2 separate regions of the Homo sapiens genome follow, and region 2 is linked to region 1. Evidence: promoter capture Hi-C in human tissues and cell types (Jung and others, 2019). All regions are on one chromosome and are shown on one strand. The core of a region is centred on a gene start or on the middle of the fragment in contact, and the rest is flanking DNA. Distances in the headings are between cores, read along the strand shown. Region 1 holds the start of FUT6 (fucosyltransferase 6). Region 2 overlaps RFX2 (regulatory factor X2).

Evidence for each region. The method cuts DNA at HindIII sites, captures the fragments that hold promoters and counts their contacts. A contact is called where the count stands out against the background at its distance.
Region 2: a fragment that was not itself captured here is called in contact with the fragment with the promoter of FUT6 in region 1 in 1 of the 25 tissues and cell types used here (pancreas).

What each region holds. Positions count from the first base shown.
Region 1 is chr19:5,836,656-5,841,413 of GRCh38, reverse strand. FUT6 (fucosyltransferase 6) reads left to right here and starts at 1,712. Exons shown (of 3, transcript NM_000150.4): 1 at 1,712-2,737. The HindIII fragment of the contact is 16,612 bases long and covers 1-4,758 here.
Region 2 is chr19:6,010,131-6,014,362 of GRCh38, reverse strand. RFX2 (regulatory factor X2) reads left to right here. Exons shown (of 18, transcript NM_000635.4): 8 at 1,258-1,377; 9 at 4,112-4,227. It overlaps RANBP3-DT (RANBP3 divergent transcript), which reads right to left. Exons shown (of 4, transcript NR_046376.1): 2 at 2,139-2,243. Among named protein-coding and RNA genes, the nearest start is that of RANBP3-DT, 34 kb to the right of the region's middle. The HindIII fragment of the contact is 6,319 bases long and covers 1-4,232 here.

The DNA.
Region 1 (4,758 bases), core at 463-2,962:
AACTGCCCCTGCAAGCCTCAAGCAGGTCCTAGCTTGCCCTGAGCCTGAGGGAAGAGGTCCTCATGATACCCTACTCTGGGCTCTGGGCTCAGCTCCTTGGCAGGGAGGTCCCACCTGGCACTGGTATGGTGAGCCCTGCTCAGAGAGGACCAGGAAACCTCTCAAGTCACACAGCAGTTTCAGGATGAGCACACGTTCTCTCTGGCACCATCCCTGAGGTCAGCCCAAGGTCCTCCACCCTCCCTTTGCCCAGCGATCACATCGATGGAATGACTAGAGCCCTACTGTCCCTCACTAGAGACCTACCTTTGGATTTTGAATCCTTAAGAAACAACCCAGCTGGGGGCGGGGCGTGGTGGCTCACGCCTGTAATCCCAGCACTTTGGGAGGCCGAGGCGGGCGGATCACAAGGTCAGGAGATCGAGACCATCCTGGCTAACATGTCTCTACTAAAAATACAAAAAAAAAAAAAAAAATTAGCTGGGCGTGATGGCGGACGCCTGTAGTCCCAGCTACTTGGGGCAGGAGAATGGCGTGAACCCAGGAGGCAGAGCTTGCCATGAGCCGAGATCGTGCCACTGCACTCCAGCCTGGGCCACAGAGCGAGACTCTGTCTCAAAAAAAAAAAAGAAAAAAAACCCAGCTGGGCGGAGTGGCTCATGCCTGGCCTCTAATCCCAGTACTTTAGGAGGCTGAGGCAGACAGATCACCTGAAGTCAGGAGGTCAAGATCAGCCTGGCTAACATGGCGAAAACCAGCTCTATTAAAAAAATACGAAAGTTACCCAGTGCCGTGTCACGCGCCTGTAGTCCCAGCTACTCGGGAGGCTGGGGCATGAGAATCGCTTGAGCCCGGGAGGCATAGGTTACAGTAAACTGAGACTGTGCCACTGCACTCCAGCCCGAGTGACAGAGCAAGATTCCATCTCAAAAAAAAGAGAGAGATAGGGGTATCTCTGTTTTCCCTAGGCTGGTCTCAGACTCCTGGGCTCAAGCGATCTTCCTGCCTCTCCTTCCCAAACTGTTGGGATTACAGGTGTGAGTCACTGTGCATGGCCTCAGAAGTCTTTTTTTTTTTTTTTTTTTTTTTTGAGACAGAGTCTTGCACTGTCGCCCAGGCTGGAGTGCAGTGGCTCAATCTAGGCTCACTGCAAGCTCCGCCTCCCGGGTTCACACCATTCTCCTGCCTCAGCCTCCCAAGTAGCTGGGACTACAGGCACCCACTACCACGCCTGGCTAATTTTTTTGTATTTTTAGTAGAGACAGGGTTTCACCATGTTAGTCAGGATGGATGGTCTTGATCTTCTGATCTCGTGATCTGCCCACCTCGGCCTCCCAAAGTGTTGGGATTACAGGCGTGAGCCACCACGCCCGGCCCCCAGAAGTCATTTTTTTAATAAGTTACAGTCAACCTCACCAGTCAAGGAATGAGACATGAGTGGAATTAGGTTGCCACTTCTGGAGCTCTGGGAGACCCCAACCCCCTGGCCCATCCCTACCTCCCAGAACCTCACTGGTCTGGGCGTGGCTGGGCACTGAGATAGTAGAACTCAGGCAGCATGATGCAGCCTCCCAGAAATGATTTCTAGAACAGGGCAGTCGTGATACTTGGAGGCTGGGCTTTGAGCTCGGTCACCTTTGCACCCAGCTTGGGAGTGAGAGAGTTTAAGGTCATCCTCCCTCAAAACCAGTATTCCAGATCATTTCTCTCCATTCCAGGAAGTTTGCATAGCTCCCTGGACTTCTGCTTTGCACTGCCCTGCAGGAGTGGGTGGGGAAAGGAAGTGGCTTTGAGGCACACAGAGGGGCTTGTTGAGGCCACCGGAGGAAGCTTCTGCCACCAATATGGGACCTGTGCCCAGCCTACCAGAAGAGAGCATCTGAAAACATGTATCGACATGGTAACCCCTCTGCTTGAAGCCTCACATGGCTCCCTATTGCCTTGGTGCTGAACACCCTATGGCTGACCGTGGCCCAGCCTCTGCAACAGCTCTGCCTCCTCTCCAGTGGTGAAGACCCAGCCTGCTGAGACTCCTCCTGCAGTTCCTCAACATGCCTGCATTTCTGCTGCCTCAGGGCCTTTGCGAAGGTTGTTCCTTGTAACTGGAATGCCCTTCCATCCCTTTTTTATTCAAAAGGCTGCAATTTTAATTGAAGAAAGTTCCCTTCCAAGGTTCATGAGTTGCCTGACTTGCCCACCGGTTTCCTGCAAGATCCCTTGGCCTGGCACTTAGTGCTCAGGAAATATTTGGTGATGGGCCAACTGAGTGAGAAGGTGGGATCTGGTGGGAAGGAAAGCGGAAAGGTAGAAATTCTGCTCACTTCCTCATTCCCACCTCCCAAGGAACCCCTGGTGTCCCTGTGGAACCCGCTTTGGGAACCGGTGGTTCAGGTCAGCCTTTTCACTTTGTACTCAAAGCCACATCGCATTGAAGCCACAGGTGGGGCAAGGTCATGCATGACCTGAGTCTCCAAATCCCTTCACCCTGTTTGGTTCTGCAACGGGGATTAGGGGAGCCCCACGATTTGTTTTCAAAGGATGTCCGGGCTCCAGGACAGGATGCCCTGGGTCACCTGATGACAGGTGTGGTGGTTGGAAAGGGCCTGGTTTCAGCTCCGGGTACACTTCCTCCTTCCTTCTGCTGCGTGGTGTGGCCTCTTCCACGTCCTCAGAATCCAGCTGTTACTCCGTCCGCGGCCTCTCAGCTCTAGGGCCCTCTGCACACTGGCCCCCCCAGGTAAGGCCTCTTGTCCCACTTTCACCCCCAACCCGGATCGCATGGGTCCAGGGAAAGGCCTCCTGGCTCCGAGCCTCCTCCCCTCAGCCTCAGTCCTGTCTGCTGTAATTCAGAGTGCGGGTGGGCTGGCACAAGATCCCTGGGGGAGGGTCTGCAGGCTGTGCAGTGGCCTGGCATTTGGCCAGCAGCCCCTAGTCGCAGGCAGGGGTCTTTCTGGATGCACCGAGGTGGGCTGAGGATATGGGAGGTCTGGCTGATTTGCCAAACCAGGAGGAAGTGGGTGTCTGTCTGTCTCTCTTGCAGAGCTCTGCGGTAGAATCCCGTGCCCCCCGACCCCATCAGCAGCCTACACCCCTTCATCCTTCCTGGCCCCGGATTTTCTCTGCCTCTGCCACTCCCGGTGGTAAAAGAGGGCTTAGAATGCGGTTTGCTTTCTGGCTTTGTTTTTTTGCATCCTGATCTTTGTGGCGTGGATCGATCATTTTCCAGGGAAAGTACCTTGGGTGAGATCTCTCTCCTGGACTCCCGTTCCCCGTTTCCCCCAATCTCCCCTCCTGAAGGTCACCGGCAAAGACTTCACTGTCTCCTAGGAAGAGGTCGCCATAAACCCAGGGGCCACATGATAATATATTAATATTAAATGTATCTCTAAACATTAACCTTTCACTGGCAGCCCAAGAGCCCGACAGCACAAAGGAATACTTGGTTAAAATTCAACCTCCCTCCCAGTCCGGGCTCTGAGTGTCCCTCGAGGGCTGTCTCTTGAGTCTTTTTCCAGAACTTTGGTATGCGCTTGTGCTCTCAATCCCTTCTCATCACACCTAGGTCACCATGCCTGGAGCTCCGCTATGCACCATAAGGTTTAGACCAACTCAGTTTATTTATTTTATTTTATTTTATTTTATTTTTTTGAGACAGAGTCTCGCTCTGTTGCCCAGGCTGGAGTGCAGTGGCGCGACCTTGGCTCACTGCAAGCTCCGCCTCCCGGGTTCACACCATTTTCCTGCCTCAGCCTCCCGAGTAGCTGGGACTACAGGTGCCCGCCACCGCGCCTGGCTAATTTTTTGTATTTTTAGTAGAGACGGGGTTTCACCATGTTGGTCAGGACAGTCTCTAACTCCTGACCTCAGGTGATTCGCCCGCCTCCACCTCTCAAAGTGCTGGGACTACAGGCATGAGCCACCGTGCCTGGCCTTTAAAAAGTTTTATTGAGATATCTGACATTCTGTTTTTCATCCTAAATCTTGGCAATCTAGTGTGCATTTTACCCTCAGAAGACAATTCAGACATTCAATGTCTGTCATAACTACTCAATCTGTATTTAGTTTCCATAAAATGAGGCTGGGCGTGGTGACTCATGCCTGTAACCCCAGCACTTTGGGAGGCTGAGGTGGGCGGGTCAATTGAGGTCAGGAGTTCGAGACCAGCCTGGCCAACATGGTGAAACTCCATCTCTACTAAAAAGACAGAAATTACCTGGGTGTGGTGGGGGGCGCCTGTAATCCCAGCTACTTGGGAGGCTGAGGCAGGAAAATCACTTTAGCCCGGGAGCTAGAGGTTGCAGTGAGCCAAGATCACGCCACTGTGCTCCAGCCTGGGTGACAGAGCAAGATTCCATCTCAGAACAAACAAACAAACATAAAAAGTACAGGTGAAGAAGTAGATTTGCCCATCCAAGATGTTCTGAAGGTACTCAAAAGTTTCCCAATTACTGCCTGTAATACCAGTCATTGCTTTTTTTCTTTTTGAGTATCTGTTTCTTGTGTGCTTTTTTGTGGTTTTTGTTTTCTGTGTTTTTATTTTTTGTTGTTATTTATTTATTTATTTATTTTGAGACACGGTCTCATTCTATTGTCTAAGCAGAAGTGCAATAGTGCAACCATGGCTTACAGCAGCCTTGAACTTCTGGGCTCCAGAAATCCTCCTGCCTCAGCATCCTGAGTAGCTGAGACTACAGGCCACCATGTCTGGCAAAATAATAATAATAAATAATAAAATTCGTTGTAGAGATGAGGTCTTGA
Region 2 (4,232 bases), core at 234-2,733, 170 kb before region 1:
CGGGGAGGCTGAGGCTGGAGAATTTCTTGAACCTGGGAGAGAGGGAGGTTGCAGTGAGCCGAGATCGCACTACTGCACTCCAGCCTGGGCAACAGAGTGAGACTGTCTCAAAAATATAATAATAAGAGAAAAAGAAAGAAAGAAAAAGAAAGGACCCAGGTGCTTCCTGCATGTCCCTGTTGCCAGCTCTGGAGAAATGGCATCCTGTGAGCTGGGTGTCTCCACAGCCATGTCTGTGGGTTAATGCTTCCCTCCTGTAAGGACTCTGTGAGCTGTTTTCTGAACTAAATTGTTTAAAGCCCTCTGATCATCATTCTCCCGTAATAAACTAATGTAATGGTTCCCAAACAGTGCCTTATTCCAAAACGTGTTACTAGATGATTGAAGGGGGTGGGGAAGAGTTGTTAATAATAATGGTAATAATAATGGAGATAAGCCATGTGGAGCTCAACAAAGCTGACCTGGTGTTCTCAGCACAGGACTTGTCCGAGCCTTTATTATACTAGCCTGTGAGAGAGGACTCTCTATGACAACGGCATTATGTACAGAATTCCTTGATCACATTCCTCACACAGTTCAGGAAATGCTGAACCAGAGAGGCCAAAGTGAAAGGTCAAGATCCGAGTGTGGTGGCACACGTCAGCTACTCAGAGGCTGCAGCAGGAGGATCACTTCTACCATCCGAGTGTGTTGGCACACGCCAGCTGTCCCAGCTACTCAGAGGCTGAGGCAGGAGGATCACTTGATCCCAGGAGGTCAAGTGATAGTGACCTCCTGGTAGTGACCTCCTGATAGTGAGCTGTGATTGCACAACTGCACTCCAGCCTGGGTGACAGAGTGAGACCCTGTTTCTGAAAAAAAAAAAAAAGAGAGAAGAGGCCAGGCGCAGTGGCTCACGCCTGTAATCCCAGCACTTTGGGAGGCCAAGGCAGGAGGATCACTTGAGCCCAGGAGTTTGAGACCAGCCTGGCCAACATGGCAAAACCCCGTCTCCACTAAAAATACAAAAATAAGCTAGGCATTATGGCTCACGCCTGTCATCCCAGCTACTTGGGAGGCTGAGGCAGGAGAATCTCTTAAACCCGGGAGGCGGAGATTGCAGTGAGCCGAGATGGCACTGCTGTACTCCAGCCTGGGCGACAGAATGAGATTCTGTCTCAAAAAAAAAAAAGAAGAAAGAAAGAAAAAGAATCCCAACCTGTCTTGTTGTTCAGGACATCTGCAAAGGGAGCTGACCCTGGGATGTTTGGTTTCCAGGGGCAACTCGAAGTACCATTACTATGGGATTCGTCTGAAGCCGGACTCACCACTGAACCGGCTGCAGGAGGACACGCAGTACATGGCCATGCGGCAGCAGCCCATGCACCAGAAGCCCAGGTGGGTGCCGGGCCGAGCTGGGAGGAGCTGGCTCTCCCCTGGAGCATGGAGGGGTGGGTGTTTCTCCAACACGAAACAAACTCATCATAACTCCCCAGTCTCCAGCATCCTGGGAAAGCCAAGGTATCCCCCTCTGCTGAGACTGAGGTGAGTCTAGCAGGAGACACAGGAGGCTGGGATGCAACCTCCTCCAGCTAACTTTTCAGACTTTTTTTAAAACCGTTTAAAACTGTTTTTAACAGACTTCATTTTTTAGAGCCATTCTAGGTTCACAGCAAAATTGAGTAGAAAGTACAGAGAGTTGTTCTACACCCCCAGCCCCGCTCCCCACCGCCTCTCCCACCATTCACCTCCCCCACACAGCGGTGCATTGCTCATGACCCGTGACCCTCCGCGGAGCCAGCATCACCCCCCAGAGTCCACAGTCAACATCAGGGCTCACTCTTGGTGTTGTACATTCGACAGTTTGGACAAACCTATAATGACATGTGTCCCCCATCACAGTGTCACGCAGAGTCCTTTCACAGTCCTACACATCCTCCATGTTCTGCCTACCCAGCTTTCCCTCCCCACCCCAGTCTGCAGCAACCTCTAATCCTTCTGCCATCCCCACAGTTTCCCCGTTCCCCAGTGTCATATAGTTGGAATCACAGACCTTTAATTTTTAAAGCTTAGGAAGTAAAGAGAGAGAGGACACTGCAAATAACCCAAGAAGCCAGGAGAAAGAAGCAGATGTGCTCAAGTCACGACTTCTTCTTCACCTTTGGATCCAGTGGCTGGAAAGCCCTGGTTATTTTCTGGAAGATCCTCTTCTCCATCCATCACAAACTTTCTCATCTTCTAAGGCAGGAGCCAGCAAACCTTTCCTGTAAAGAGCCAGAGAGCAAATATCTTAGCCTTGCAGGCCAGACAGTCTCTGTCATGACTGTTCAATTTGGCTACATCCTGAAAGCAGCCACAGACAGCATGAGGATGATGGGCATGGCTGTGTGCCAGTAAAACTTTATTTATAAAAACAAACAGCAGAATTGGCCCTCAGGCCATAGTTTGCTGGCCCCTGGTTTAGGGCCCATTCAAATATCACTGCCTCCCAGTGTGCCTCCACAAGTGCCCCCCCTGAGGGCAGGGGCCACATTGCAATAGCCCCACGTGGCACCTTTACACCTGGTGCTGGACCCTCTGCACAGAGCCACCCGTGTATGTGTGTGGCTCAAAAACCCATTCCAGCTGCTCTGCGTAACCCATTGACTCCTGACCACACAGCCACTCCCAGGAGTTGGAGGTTCCAGGAGAGAGTTTCCAGAGCATTCCTTCTGTACCTCGTTGTCTGCAGACATGGACTCTGGAGCTCACTGCTGTTGTTCAATTTGGGCCCCTGGCAGACAGCTGTGAACCTGTGCTCCAGGCAGTGTGTCATTTTAGGAGCAGCGACACACATTTCAGGGGGACAGGCTGATGCCATTTGCATTTGGAAGCCACAGCCTGAGCCTGTGTCTGTGTGATGCCCACGGCCTGCCCTGAGCCAGGTGGTTTACACACACCTCGCCAGCATGGTCTCCCGCCTCCCTGTAGGCCTGGCCCCGCTTCGTATTTGAGGAGGGAGGTCCGCTGGAGATGCTCCAGCTCAAGCCGGCTCCCTCCCTGCCCCCACCACACCACACACCGGGCCCTGAGGAGTCCAGCGCCTGGAAAGTGCTGAGTGTTTCTCAGCACTGCCTGCACAGGCTGGCCACCACCATCTGGCTCAAAATGAAAGTCTCAGAACTTCTAAGATTGCACCAATAATAAGATGTTTGTGATTCACGCAAAGAATCTCCCTTTTATTTTATTTTATTTTATTTTATTTTAATTAATTTATTTATTTTTTTTGAGACCGAGTTTCGCTTTTGTCGCCCAGGCTGGAGTGCAATGGCGTGAACTCGGCTCACTGCAACCTCTGCCTCCCAGGTTCAAGTGATTCTCCTGCCTCAGCCTCCTGAGTCGCTGGGATTAAAGGCATGCGCCACCACGCCCAGCTAATTTTGTATTTTTAGTAGAGACGGGGTTACTCCATGTTGGTCAGGCTGGTCTCGAACTCCCGACCTCAGATGATCCACCTGCCTCGGCCTCCCAAAGCACTGGGATTACAGGCGTGAGCCCCTGCGCCCGGCCAAGAATTTCACTTTTTTTTCTAAGAGAGAAATGTTAGGGGGAAAATATATATCTATTTTCTCAAGTGTCCATTAACAAACTGTGGTTCATCCATATGATGGAATATTATTCAGCCTTAAAAAGGAGGAAATTCCAACACAGGCTACAACTCGGTGGACCTTGAGGACATAACGCTCAGTGAGAGAGACCAGTTGCAAAAGGACAAATCCTGTGTGACCCCACTCCTAGGAGGTCCCTAGAGTCGTCAGATTCACAGAGACGGGAAGTCAGATCAGGGGTGCCAGGGGCTGGGGACAGGGATGGGGAGTGAGCGTTTTATGGAGACAGAGCTTCAGTGTGGGAAGATGATCAAGTTCTGGAGATGACGACGGTGAGGGTTGCACAACCAGTGAATGTGCTTAATGCTGCTGAGCTGTGCACTCAAGATGGTTCCGATGGTAGCTTTTGTGTTATGTGTATTTGACCGCAACTTGTAAACATCACACACACATGCCTGACTGAATCCTGCCCAGCCCCCCAGTCTTTGGGCCCACCCGCAGCAGGGCTGCTGGGCCTCATGATGGTATGCGTGTTCCTGGCCTAGGTACCGGCCAGCCCAGAAGACGGACAGCCTCGGGGACAGCGGCTCCCACAGCGGCCTGCACAGCACTCCGGAACAGACCATGGCCGTGCAGAGCCAGCACCACCAGCAGTACATAGGTGAG